Linked DNA regions of Homo sapiens: all the other regions are linked to region 3. Evidence: promoter capture Hi-C in human tissues and cell types (Jung and others, 2019). All regions are on one chromosome and are shown on one strand. The core of a region is centred on a gene start or on the middle of the fragment in contact, and the rest is flanking DNA. Distances in the headings are between cores, read along the strand shown.

The links. Contacts are between HindIII fragments. The study calls those that stand out against the background at their distance.
Region 1: a fragment that was not itself captured here is called in contact with the fragment with the promoter of SP100 in region 3 in 1 of the 25 tissues and cell types used here (mesenchymal stem cells).
Region 2: a fragment that was not itself captured here is called in contact with the fragment with the promoter of SP100 in region 3 in 1 of the 25 tissues and cell types used here (spleen).

Annotation. Positions count from the first base shown.
Region 1 is chr2:230,014,282-230,018,650 of GRCh38, reverse strand. No RefSeq gene overlaps it. Among named protein-coding and RNA genes, the nearest start is that of SLC16A14, 52 kb to the left of the region's middle. The HindIII fragment of the contact is 3,987 bases long and covers 938-4,369 here.
Region 2 is chr2:230,802,597-230,806,740 of GRCh38, reverse strand. The region is part of intron 5 of CAB39 (calcium binding protein 39); the gene reads right to left. Among named protein-coding and RNA genes, the nearest start is that of ITM2C, 60 kb to the left of the region's middle. The HindIII fragment of the contact is 3,888 bases long and covers 1-3,677 here.
Region 3 is chr2:230,414,103-230,418,265 of GRCh38, reverse strand. It overlaps SP100 (SP100 nuclear antigen), which reads right to left and starts at 2,065. Exons shown (of 29, transcript NM_001080391.2): 1 at 1,938-2,065; 2 at 601-675. The coding sequence starts at 1,969. RefSeq lists an enhancer at 1,899-2,418. The HindIII fragment of the contact is 8,532 bases long and covers 1-4,163 here.

The sequences.
Region 1 (4,369 bases), core at 1,682-4,181, 400 kb after region 3:
ATATTTATATATATAATTAAAAACGATATATATTTCACATATAAGTAAGATCAGACCATGTTTTTCTCTTCGTTTCTGGCTTATTTCACTTAGTATAATAACCTCCAGGTCCATCTGTGTTGTTGCAAATGCTAGGATCTCTTTCTTTTCTAAGGCCAAATAATATTCCATTGTATACATCTACCACATTTACTTTATCCATTTGTCCATCAGTGGATATTTAGGTTGTTTCCACATTGCTTATTGTGAGTAATGTTGCAATGAACATGGGATTGCAGACATCATTACGAGGCAGTGATTCATCTCCTTTGGATATACACCCAGAAGACGGACTGCTGGTCACATGGTAGCTCTATTTTAAATTTCTTTAGGAACCTCCATACTGTTTTCCATAATAGCTGTACCAATCTACATTCTCACCAACAGTGTACTAGGGTTTCCTTTTCTCCGTACCCCTGCCAACATTTGTTATTTATCACTTGTTTTTTCGACAAGAGCCACCTTTATGGGTGTGAGGTGGTATCTCGACCTGGTTTTAATTTGCATTTCTCTGCTGATTAGTGATGTTGATCACCTTTTTATATACCTGCTGGCCATTTTTTAAAAAAAATTTAAAGTTGAGACAGGGTCTTGCCATATTGCCGAGGCTGGTCTCAAACTCCTGGGCTTACATGATCCTCCTGCCTTGGTCTCCCAAAGTGCTGGGATTATAGGCATAAGCCACCATGCCCGGCCACTGTTGGGCATTTTTATGTCTTCTTTGGAGAAATGTCTGTTTAGATCTTTTGCCCATTTATTAATAGGGTTATTTGTTTTTTTGTTATTGAGTTGTAAGAGTTCTTTATACATTTTGGATATTAACTCCTTATCAGATATGTGGTTTGCAAATATTGTTTTCTAGTCTGTAAGCTGCCTTTTCATTTTGTTGATTGTTTCCTTTGCTCTGCAAAGGTTTTTTAGTTTGGTATCATCCCATTTATTTATTTTTGCTTTCGTAGCCTGGTTTTTTGGTATGATATCCAAAAAATCATTGCCAAGGCCTATGTCAAGGACTGAGCCCAGGAGGAGGAGTTTTCGCCTAGAAGTTTTATGGTTTCAGGTCTTACATTTAGGTCTTTTATCCATTTTGAGTTGAGTTTTATGTATGGTGTAAGGTAAGGGTCAAATTTCATTCTTTTGCAGTGGCAATCTAGTTTTCCCAGCACCATTTATTGAAGACATTATCCTATCCCCATTTTGTCCTCTTGGTGCCCTTGTTGAGAATTAATTGATCCTATGTGTTTGGACTTATTTCTGGGCTTTCAATTTTGTTCCATTGGTCTATGTTTCCGTTTTTCTGCCAGTACTATAGTGTTTTGATTAGTATAGCTCTATAATATAATTTTAAATCAGGAAGTGTGAGGCCTCAAACATTTTCTCTCAGTATTGCTTTGGCTATTCTAAGTATTTTGTGGTTCTATATTAATTTCAGGATTTTTTTCTTTATTATTTTACTTAGAGACAAGACCTTGCTCTGTTGCCCAGGCTGGAGTGCAGTAGCATGATCATAGCTCACTGCAACCTTGAACTCTTAGGCTCAAACAATCCTCCTGCCTCAGCTCCATGGTATGTGGGACTGCAGGCATGCACCACCACACCCAGCTAATTTTTAACTTTTTTTTCTTTAAGAGACAGGGTCTTGTTATACTACCCAGGCTTTTTTTTTTTTTTTTTTCTATTTCTGTGAAGAATGTCCTTGGGAATTTTGATAGGCACTGTATTAAATCTGCATATTTCTTTAGGTAATACAGACATTTGAACAATATTAAATTTTCCCATCCATGAATATATGTATTTATTTGTGTCTTCTTTGATTTCTTTCATCAGTTTTATAGTTTTCAGTGTATCAATCCTTCATGTCCTTGACTAAATTTGTTCCCAGATATTTTAAGTTTGTTTTTTCTTTTTTTTTTTTTTTGACAGTCTTGCTCTGTCACCCAGGCTGGTGTGCAGTGGTACAATCTTGACTCACTGCAACCTCTGCCTCCTGGGTTCAAGCAATTCTCCTGCCTCAGCCTCCTGAGTAGCTGGGATTACAGGCGCCTGCCACCACACCCTGCAATTTTTTTGTATTTTTAGCAGAGATAGGGTTTCACCATGTTGGTCTTGAACTCCTGACCTCGGGTGATCCACCCACCTCGGCCTCCCAAAGTACTGGAATTACAGGCATGAGCCACCGCACCTGGCCAGATATTTTAGTTTGTGATGCTGTCGTAAATGTGACTGGTTTCTTGAATTCTTTTTCAGCTAGAAAAAGAATTGTGTATAGATATGCTACTGATTTTTTTGTATGTTGATTTTGTATCCTGCAACTTTACTGACTTCATTTATTAGTTACAGTTTTTTGTCAAATCTTTGGGGTTTTCTACCTATAGAATCATGTCATCTGCAAATAGAGATAATTTTACTTCTTCCTTTTCAACTTGGATGTTTTTCTTTCTTTTTCTTGTCTGATTGCTCTTGCTAGCAAGCACTTGCAGTACTATGTTGAATAGAAGTGGTGAATGTGAGCATCCCTGCCTTGTACTGGATCTTAGTGGAAAAAGTTTTCAGTTTTTCCTTGTTGGTTATGTTGTTAGCTGTGAGGTCTTTGTAAACTGCCTTTATTATGTTGAGGAACTTTCCTTCTATACATAGTTAAGTTTTCATTAAGAAAGGATACTGAACTTTGTCAAATGTTTGTCAATTAAGATAATTATGTATTTTCTCTTTCATTCTGTTAAGATAATGTATCACACTGATTGATTTGTGTATGTCAAACCTGCTTTGCATGCCAGAGATAAATCTCACTTTGTCTTGATGTACAATCTTTTTGTGTTGTTGAATTCAGTTTTCTAATATTTTATGAAGGATTTTCGCATCAATGCTCATCAGAGATGCTGGCCTGAAGTTTTCTTTTCTTGTCTTGTGTTTTTGTCTGGCTTTGGTATCAAGATGATGCTGGTCTCATAAAATATGTTTGGAAGTATTCCCTCTAGCTCTATTATTCGGAAGTCTTTAAGAAGTATTGGTGACAATTCTTCTTTGTATGTTTGTAGAAATCAACCACGAAAGCCATCTGGTCCTGAGATTTTCTTCACTGGAAGGTTTTTAATTGCTTCTTCAATCTCTTCACTTGTTATTCTGTTCAAGCTTTCTATTTCTCATCAATTCAATCTTGGTGGGTTATACTTTTCTAGGAACTTATCCATTTCTTCTAGGTTATACAATTTGTTGGCATATAATTATTCATAATAGTCCCTTATGATTCCTTTTATTTCTGAGGCATCTGTTGGAATGGCTCCACTTTCATCTCTGATTTTATTTGAGTCTTCTTTTTTCCTTAGTTTAGCTAGGGGTTTGCTGATTTTGTTTATTTTTTCGAAGAACTAACTCTTGGTTTTATTGAGTTTTTCCTATGGTTTTTCTGTTCTCTATTTGATTTTTTCTGTTCGAATCTTTATTTCCTTCCTTCTGCTAACTTTGGATTTAGTTTGTTCTTCTACTGGCTCCTTGAGATGTAATGTTAGGCTATTTATTTAGGGTATTTCTTTTTCCTTTTTTTTTTTTTTTGAAACAGTCTTACTCTGTTGCCCAGCCTGGAGTGCAGGGGTGTGATCACAGCTCACTAGAGCTTCGACCTCTGGGCTCAAGCGATCCTCTCACCTCAGCCTCCCAAGTAGCTGGGACCACAGGCCTGTGCCACCATGCTGGGCTGATCTTTTTATTTTTTGTAGAGACAGGGTCTCCTTATATTGCCCAGGCTGGTCTTGAACTCCTGGGCTCAAAGGATCCTCCCGTTTCAGCTTCCCAAAGTGCCATGATTAGAGGAATGAGCCACTGCACCTGGCCTGGGGTCTTTCTTCTTTTTTAATATAGGCATTTATTGCTATAAACTTCCCTCTTAGATTGCTTTTGATATTGTGTTTCCATTGTCATTTGTCTCAAGATATTTTTTATCACTTGATGTTTTTAACATGACATCAAAGACATCCATTTCAAGTTGAAACCAACTACTCACAATTGAAAAGCTTGGATACGCTCTCACAGTATATTAATACAAACTGAAGATAGAGGTCATTATACTAAAACTCAGAGCAAAAAACTGTGATGAACTTTTCTGTTTTTAGTAAGGTTGTTTTATATTATTCTTCGGTATTTCAGGAGTCAGTTTGGGGTAATAAATAAAGACTGATAACCATTATATACACAAGCAGCTCACAAAACAATGACAAGTGGTACCTGGTGCATTGTCCTTACCCCTGCTTGCAGTCCCTCCCCACATGATCACCTCAGCCTTAGTTCTGGGGCCTACTCAGTAGAAGAAAACATTTTAGGCCGGGCACGGTGG
Region 2 (4,144 bases), core at 484-2,983, 390 kb before region 3:
TCTCCCTGTGCTAGGGTCAGACCTATCCCCAAATACTATGCCAGGAACCATCAGAGCTGACAGATCCATGTTTTGTCCATTTTCTATGGGACCCCACTTCAAATACAAGTAGTGCTCTCATGGCAGGTCCCTACCGAGGCTTCTCTTCTCCAGGCTAAATACTTCCAGTTCCTTTAACCACTCCTCGAATGACAGGGTTCTGAGTCCCCCTCACCATCTACTGTCTTCTGAAAGTCATCTATTTGTCTATGTGCCTCTTAAAGTGTAGCGCCTGGAATGGAACACATTTATGTGTTGTTACCTGATAAGCTCATAGTGGAGTGAGACTATCAGTTAGCTCCTTAGGTTACATACTACGTGGTCACATGGAGCTCTGGGGAACACATTATCATACTGCTTAATTGTATTGGGGGTATTCAAAATTGTTTACTCAAAGTGGGCTCTGGTAGCCTGCCTGCCTGGGTCCGCAGTCTGACTTCCCCATTTATTGTCTGATTTCAATCAAAATCTCTAGGCTTCACTTTCCTCATCTGTAAAGTCAGTAATAACAACACTGCCTTCCTAGGGTTGAGTATGATATGAAATTATCTACATCCTAGTAATTATTATACTTAGTATCTCATTTTGTATTTATTATTATTGTGTTATTCCTCCATCCCATATTTTATACAGCTGGGTCCTCAAGTGGAAGACCTCAGTTATCTGTATTTAACTTCATCCTGCTATATTCTGGTCTCTCTGACCTTTCTAAGTTTTAGGATCCTCTGTTATCTGCTGTCCTTCCCTTCCTGGCTAACATCTACACATTTGATAAGTATGCCTTGTCACCTTTTATTTCAGTCACTAATAAAAACGTTCAGCTGGGTGGGGAAAGCCCCGTGGAAATTCGCTAGAAGTTTCTCTGCAGGGTGACGGCAATTTACGTGCCAATAGCATATGGATATAACATACAACTGGTTGTGAATTACTATACTGAAACTCCATCTAGCTCAGTTTTACTGTTTCCATGAAAACAGATTTGTAGAATTATACAACATCTAGCATATCCTTGTTGTGATGAAGGAGTAATTCTAACAGCTAATGTTTACTGCATAGACACTGTGTGAAGGCACAACAACTGATATGGTCATGTTATTACCTGAATCTGAACAGATGAAGAGATTGGAGGTGAGATCAGCAGCAGAGCTGGTGTGAACCTAGGCAGCCATGCCCTTTTACTCCCCCAATCCACCAGTACCTATGAGATCAATATGACTGAACTTCCTCTTAGTGAATCCATGATGGCTGTGGGTACAGTTTCCAAACTGCTCAGAAGCCATTTTTTTTTGTATTTTTTTTTTAATTATACTTTAAGTTCTAGGGTACATGTACACAACATGCAGGTTTGTTACATATGTATACATGTGCCATGTTGGTTTGCTGCACCCATTAACCCATCATTTACATTAGGTATTTCTCTTAATGCTATCCCTCCCCCACCCCGCCACCCCATGACAGGCCCCGGTGTTTGATGTTCCCCGCCCTGTGTCCAAGGGTTCTCATCATTGTTCAATTCGCACCTATGAGTGAGAACATGCGGTGTTTGGTTTTCTGTCCTTGCAACAGTTTGCTCAGAATGATGGTTTCAAGCTTCATCCATGTCGCTACAAAGGACACGAATGCATCCTTTTTTAAGGCTGCATAGTATTCCATGGTGTATATGTGCCACATTTTCTCAATCCAGTCTGTCACTGATGGACATTTGGGTTGGTTCCAAGTCTTTGCTATTGTGAATAGTGCAACAGTAAATATACGTGTGCATGTGTCTTCATAGTAGTATGATTTGTAATCCTTTGGGGATATACCCAGTAATGGGATCACTGGGTCAAATGGTATTTCTATTTCTAGAGCCTTCAGGAATCGCCACACTGTCTTCCACAATGGTTGAACTAGTTTACACGCCCACCAACAGTGTAAAAGTGTCCCTATTTCTCCACATCCTCTCCAGCACCTGTTGTTTCCTGACTTTTTAATGATCGCCATTCTAACTGGTGTGAGATGGTATCTCATTGTGGTTTTGATTTGCATTTCTCTGATGACCAGAGATGATGAGCATTTTTTCATGTGTCTGTTGGCTGCATAAATGTCTTCTTTTGAAAAGTGTCTGTTCATATCATTTGCCCACTTTTTGATGGGGTTGTTTGATTTTTTTCTTGTAAATTTGTTTAAGTTCTTTGTAGATTCTGGATATTAGCCCTTTGTCAGATGGGTAGATTGCAAACATTTTCTCCCATTCTGTAGGGTGCCTGTTCACTCTGATGGTAGTTTCTTTTGCTGTGCAGAAGCTCTTTATTTAGATCCCATTTATCTATTTTGGCTTTTGTTGCCATTGCTTTTGGTATTTTAGTCATGAAGTCCTTGCCCATGCCTATGTCCTGAATGGTAGTGCCTAGGTTGTCTTCTAGGGTTTTTATGGTTTTAGGTCTAACATTTAAGTCTTTAATCCATCTTGAATTAAGTTTTGTATAAGGTGTAAGGAAGGTGTCCAGTTTCAGCTTTCTACACATGGCTAGCCAGTTTTCCCAGCACCATTTATTAAATAGGGAATCCTTTCCCCCATTTCTTGTTTTTGTCAGGTTTGTCAAAGATCAGATGGTTGTAGGTGTGCGGTGTTATTTCTGAGGCCTCTGTTCTGTTCCATTGGTCTATATCTCTGTTTTGGTACCAGTGCCATGCTGTTTTGGTTACTGTAGCCTTGTAGTAGAGTTTGAAGTCAGGTAGTGTGATGCCTCCAGCTTTGTTCTTTGTGCTTACGATTGTCTTGGCAATGCGGGCTCTTTTTTGGTTCCATATGAACTTTAAAGTAGATTTTTCCAATTCTGTGAAGAAAGTCAGTGGTAGCTTGATGGGAATGGCATTGAATCTATAAATTACCTTGGGCAGTATGGCCATTTTCATGATATTGATTCTTCCTATCCATGAGCATGGAATGTTCTTCCGTTTGTGTCCTCTTCTATTTCGTTGAGCAGTGGTTTGTAGTTCTCCTTGAAGAGGTCCTTCACATCCCTTGTAAGTTGCACTCCTAGGTATTTTATTCTCTTTGTAGCAATTGTGAATGGGAATTCAGTCATGATTTGGCTCTCTGTCTGTTATTGGTGTATAAGAATGCTTGTGATTTTTGCACCTTGATTTTGTATCCTGAGACTTTGCTGAAGTTGCTTATCAGCTTAAGGAGATTTTGGGCTGAGATGATGGGGTTTTCTAAATATACAATCATGTCATCTGCAAACAGGGACAATTTGACTTCCTCTTTTCCTAATTGAATACCCTTTATTTCCTTCTCTTGCCTGATTGCCCTGGCCAGAACTTCCAACACTATGTTGAATAGGAGTGGTGAGAGAGGGCATCCCTGTCTTGTGCAACTTTTCAAAGGGAATGCTTCCGGTTTTTGCCCATTCAGTATGATATTGGCTGTGGGTTTGTCATAAATAGCTCTGATTATTTTGAGATACGTTCCATCAATACCTAGTTTATTGAGAGTTTTTAGCACGAAAGGCTGTTGAATTTTGTCAAAGGCCTTTTCTGCATCTATTGAGATAATCACATGGTTTTTGTCTTTGGTTCTGTTTATGTGACGGATTATGTTTATTGATTTTCGTATGTTGAACCAGCATTGCATCGAAGGGATGAAGCCCACTTGATCGTGGTGGATACTCTTTTTGATGTGCTGCTGGATTCAGTTCGCCAGTATTTCATTGAGGATTTTCGCATTGATGTTCATCAGGGATATTGGTCTAAAGTTTTTTTTTGTTGTGTCTCTACCAGGCTTTGGTATCAGGATGATGCTGGCCTCATAAAATGAGTTAGGGAAGATTCCCTCTTTTTCTGTTGATTGGAATAGTTTCAGAAGGAATGGTACCAGCTTCTCCTTGTACCTCTGGCAGAATTTGGCTGTGAATCCGTCTGGTCCTGGAGTTTTTTTGGTTGACAGTCTTTTAATGATTGCCTCAATTTCAGAGCCTGTTATTGGTCTATTCAGCGATTCAACTTCTTCCTGGTTTAGTCTTGGGAAGGTGTATGTGTCCAGGAATTTATCCATTTCTTCTAGATTTTCTAGTTTATTTGCATAGAGGTGTTTATGGTATTCTCTGATGGTAGTTTGTAT
Region 3 (4,163 bases), core at 816-3,315:
CTACTAGAAGGTAAATAATTGTCATGGAGGAAAAGTTTGAGACAACTATTATGAACACAAAGTGAAAGACTGAAAAGATGAAAACGGGGCAAATAAAAGCTGTGAAGGCTAAAGTGGCTCCAATGTAAGAATATTTTTGTTTAAAAATTTAAAAAATTTTCAGAGATATTAGAGGAGGAACTCTTCCTGGAATAGCGGTAGCAGCGAATCTGCCACCTTAACACAGAAATAATTGTAAAAACTAAGAGTGCTCACAGAGGGTGTCAGCATCACCTCGTTTATAACAAGGGTGCATCTATCTTAAAAAAATCTGTATCACAAGAGGCCTATATGTTAAGTTTTAAGCTTTAATAAGATAAAAGTCACCATAGACAAAGGTAATGGACAAGAAAAGTATATTTATACTTACAGAATATTTAGTGAATTCTCCCATATCACGAAAAAAAGGACAAACACCTCAACGGAATCATATTGGCAAAAAACAAACAAGCAATTTATAGAAGAGGGAATTTAAATGGCCAAGAAACATGAAAAGCTGATCAATTTTCCCATCGTAAGGAAAATACAAATTAAAACAAGACATAACTCTTCATTCATCACCTTTGCAAATCGTGGCTGTGTGCAGGAAGATGGTTCATCTCATTTGCTACTGGTGAAATACATTCATTCAGCCTCCTAGAAAGACAATTTGGCAGGACCAAGTAAATAACTGGACCCTTTGCCTCAATAATTACATTTTTAAGGTTTAGAGACAAGATAAATATTTGTTTAGATGTAAAAACCCAAAAAGAAATATATAATCATTGTTATGATAGCTTATTGGTAAATGTGAACAATTTAAAAACAATCTAAATGTCCTTCAATTGGAGAATAAATAATTATCATATATCAATTCTATGGAATAGCATGTATAAAAAGAATGAGGCAGATCTATATGTATTAAGGTTAAAAGATCTCTAAGTTTTCCACTATTAAAATAAGTAAAAATGCAAAATGCAGACTAGCACATGTAATATAATTTATTATAAATCAAGAACATAAATTACGTATTTACAAAAAATGCATTAGATATATAAATGCATAGAAAAATATAAGAAAAGCTGTGCCCAAGACTCTTCACAGGACTGGGAAGAGAAGCTACAAGAATGGCTGAGTGGCAAAGATGACTTTTTCCTTAATATACTTCTCCACTGTTTTAAATTTTATGAACAATAATGTACAGTGTATTTCTTTTGTATTAAAAAATTTAAAAGATTAAGTAATGTTATTTCTCAACTCACTACTAGAGAAAAGTTAGGATTTCCTTCTCTTTTCTGGTCAGAGGTATCCCCCATCTTGGGACAGGAAATTGAGGTAAAAATGAAAATATTTAGCCGTTTGTCACCCTGGGCCTTTTTCTTCCCTTTCCTTCTTTTGATCAAGGTTGATGGAATAAGAACTCAGACCCTGAGCCAGTCATGGGAACAGCCGGCAGAGGCCCCTTGCCAGGACAGGTGAGACCACAGCGTCTGATGTTTAAAAGTAAGCCAGGTGTTTACCCTGGAGTGTTTATTTTCTAAAGCACCTTTTTTGACATGACATATTTGAAGGTAGAGGAAGGCTGAGGGGTGAAAGGGTTCACAGATCATGAGGAAATAGTTAATCCCAGCCACCAACAACTGCTATGTTTAGAGTGTCCCGGTCAGCTGAGCAGTAAATCCAAAACAAGAAAGTCACGTGTGTTATGGCAAGTTGAACTCACACCAACAGCTGTCCTGCTCCTGTTTAAAAAATCTGATTTCCTCATTACTTGTCTTTCATTTCATTATATAACATCGCATACCTATGTTCTTGCAAAGAAGGATTAAAGTGAAGCCTTAGGCACAAACTGAACTAAAGGCATGAAAGCTGCAATATAGCCAGAGATAAAGGTTAAAGGAAGGGAGATAAAGACTCACCTGGTGCTCAGGTCGCCGCCCCCACCTGCCATCTTCCCACCCTAGGCCCTGCGTGGGCCTCAGAGCCTGGCCTCTGAGCCCCTCAGTCGGCCCAGCCTGCGTGCAGTGTGGCTGCCCAGGCCCCAAGCAGGAAGTCGGCCGACAGACTGACTCAGAAAGGGCTCCGCCCAAATGGGGAAAAGAGAAGTGAAAGTATTTAACCTCCTTCTGGGCTACGGACACTGTGTTTCTCCTCCTTTTTCACTCCAAGGGATTCTCAGCTTTTCTGAAATGTGGCAGAGGGTTGGAGGAGAGGCCTGACAAGCAGCAAGACCTGCAGGACCAGGGAAGGAGGGCCCAGGGGACGAGCAGGGCCAGCTCCCGGGTGTCCACTTGTTTGTGCAATACACAGCCAAAAAAAATGTCCTTGAAACAAAATTGTCCTTAGCTGCTCTGCCCTCTAAGAGGGGGCATAGTTTACATGGGAGTTGGGGGGGAAACTCCATGTTTGCCCCTTCCCCTTGCTGACATGGCTTGGGGTGGGAGTTGGAGGGTTGGAGGGAAAGCCAGAAACCTCAAATCTTCTCTCAGGCCCATGGGAGAGCATGGACTGGACTAAGGTAGGTCCTGACATTGGGACCCAGGGCTGGAGAGAACCAAAATGCTCAGCATTATAACCTGGGGAGAGTGTGCTTAGCCTTCCTGGAAATCAGCCAGAAGTAAGAGAGAACTCTCCACACCCCTGGGACCAGAGGCTGGAGCCAGCATGGTAAGAAAGGCAAACATTTTAAGGGGCAAGGGTTTAAGGAATCTTGACTATGGGGCCGCCTTGGAACAGCCAGGGGTGAAGAGACACCTAAGCTTCGGAGAAGTCACTGGAATCTTGAGAGAACAAAAGCTTCTCATTGGAGGAGGATGGAGGTTGGAACCCAGATGATCTAGACATGGAAGGGCAGGGTGGCTCCCGCGGGAGGTTCTATCTCTGCCCAGATTTTCCATTTAGATTCTGATTCATCATTCCTCAGAGAACAAGAAGCGACCGAGAAGACTCGCTTTACATCAGTATAAAGTCATAGGTAAAGAAACAGAAGCAAAGGGCGCATGAGAATGGGGCCACAGGACACAACCAGGGACCAGAACTCCAGGCCGGACCATGGGGCAGAGACAGGGAGGCAGCTGGGAGCCTGGGGGCGCTGGAATCCAGGGCCCAAGGTGAGCAGAGGGTGGAAGCTGGTGAGGATTCAGGGGCCAGAGGGGATGGCACTTCAGAACGGTGTTTTCCAAATGGCATTCTACTGAATCCAACTTCTTCCAGCTGTGAATAAGGATGCTTGTCCAGGTACATTTGAAAATGTGGGGGAAGGGGCTTTCTACCCTCACTCTACTTCTGCTCTTCTTTTCCCCATGAGTGAATGACCAGGCACCAGGACATTGGTGAGGACAGCTTTGCCGGTGGGCGAAGGTCACTGTTTCTATCAGGCACTGCACACCTGTAGGTCTCTCTCTCTTTCTCTCACCTGTAGGTCTCTCTCTCTTTCTCTCATTCTTCCTACCCCCCATGACTCCCCGACTTTATGGGGCTGAAGGGCTGGTAAGCTGAGCCTCTTTTGGGCACAGCTGTCCTTTGATCCCAGTCTCCATGAGGCACATTGGTCCCAAGAAGTCCTGGCATGGACCACACAGTATGCTTTGGTGTGGTTCACGTTCTCCCCTCTCGCTGCCTCTGGGCAGCAGGCAGGCTCAGGCCATTGAGTGGCACTGACATAAACGTGCCAGCTTTTCCCTGGATGTGCTTAGGGGCTACTAAGAGCAGCACCTGGAATTCCAGACCAATGAGCCACAGGCTGGCAGGGAATTCCTTACGGGTTGAACTTCACGGGCAGACATGCCCATGCTGGGGCACCTCCTGGCAGCAGGGAAGGAGATGTTCTCATCAGATGAGGTTGGAGACAGATGAGCATGCACCATGCTCCGCTGGTATATGGAGAATCTGTAGGCCTCTGTGAAGAAAGCAAAGTTTCTCTGATCCAGAAAACAATGTCAGACACACTGGGGTTGGGAAAGGGACGGGACCACATTAAGAAGACATGTGAGCTAAAAATCCTGCTGGACTGTTTAGAAGGAAATAATGGAACTCCTGGGGCATTTTCCATGGCTGCAAGGAGCACAGGCAATAGGGAATATTTCTGTTGTCAAGAAGTAGTTCCAGTTACTGGAGCCTGGAAAACTCAAAAGCAGGGGAGGCAG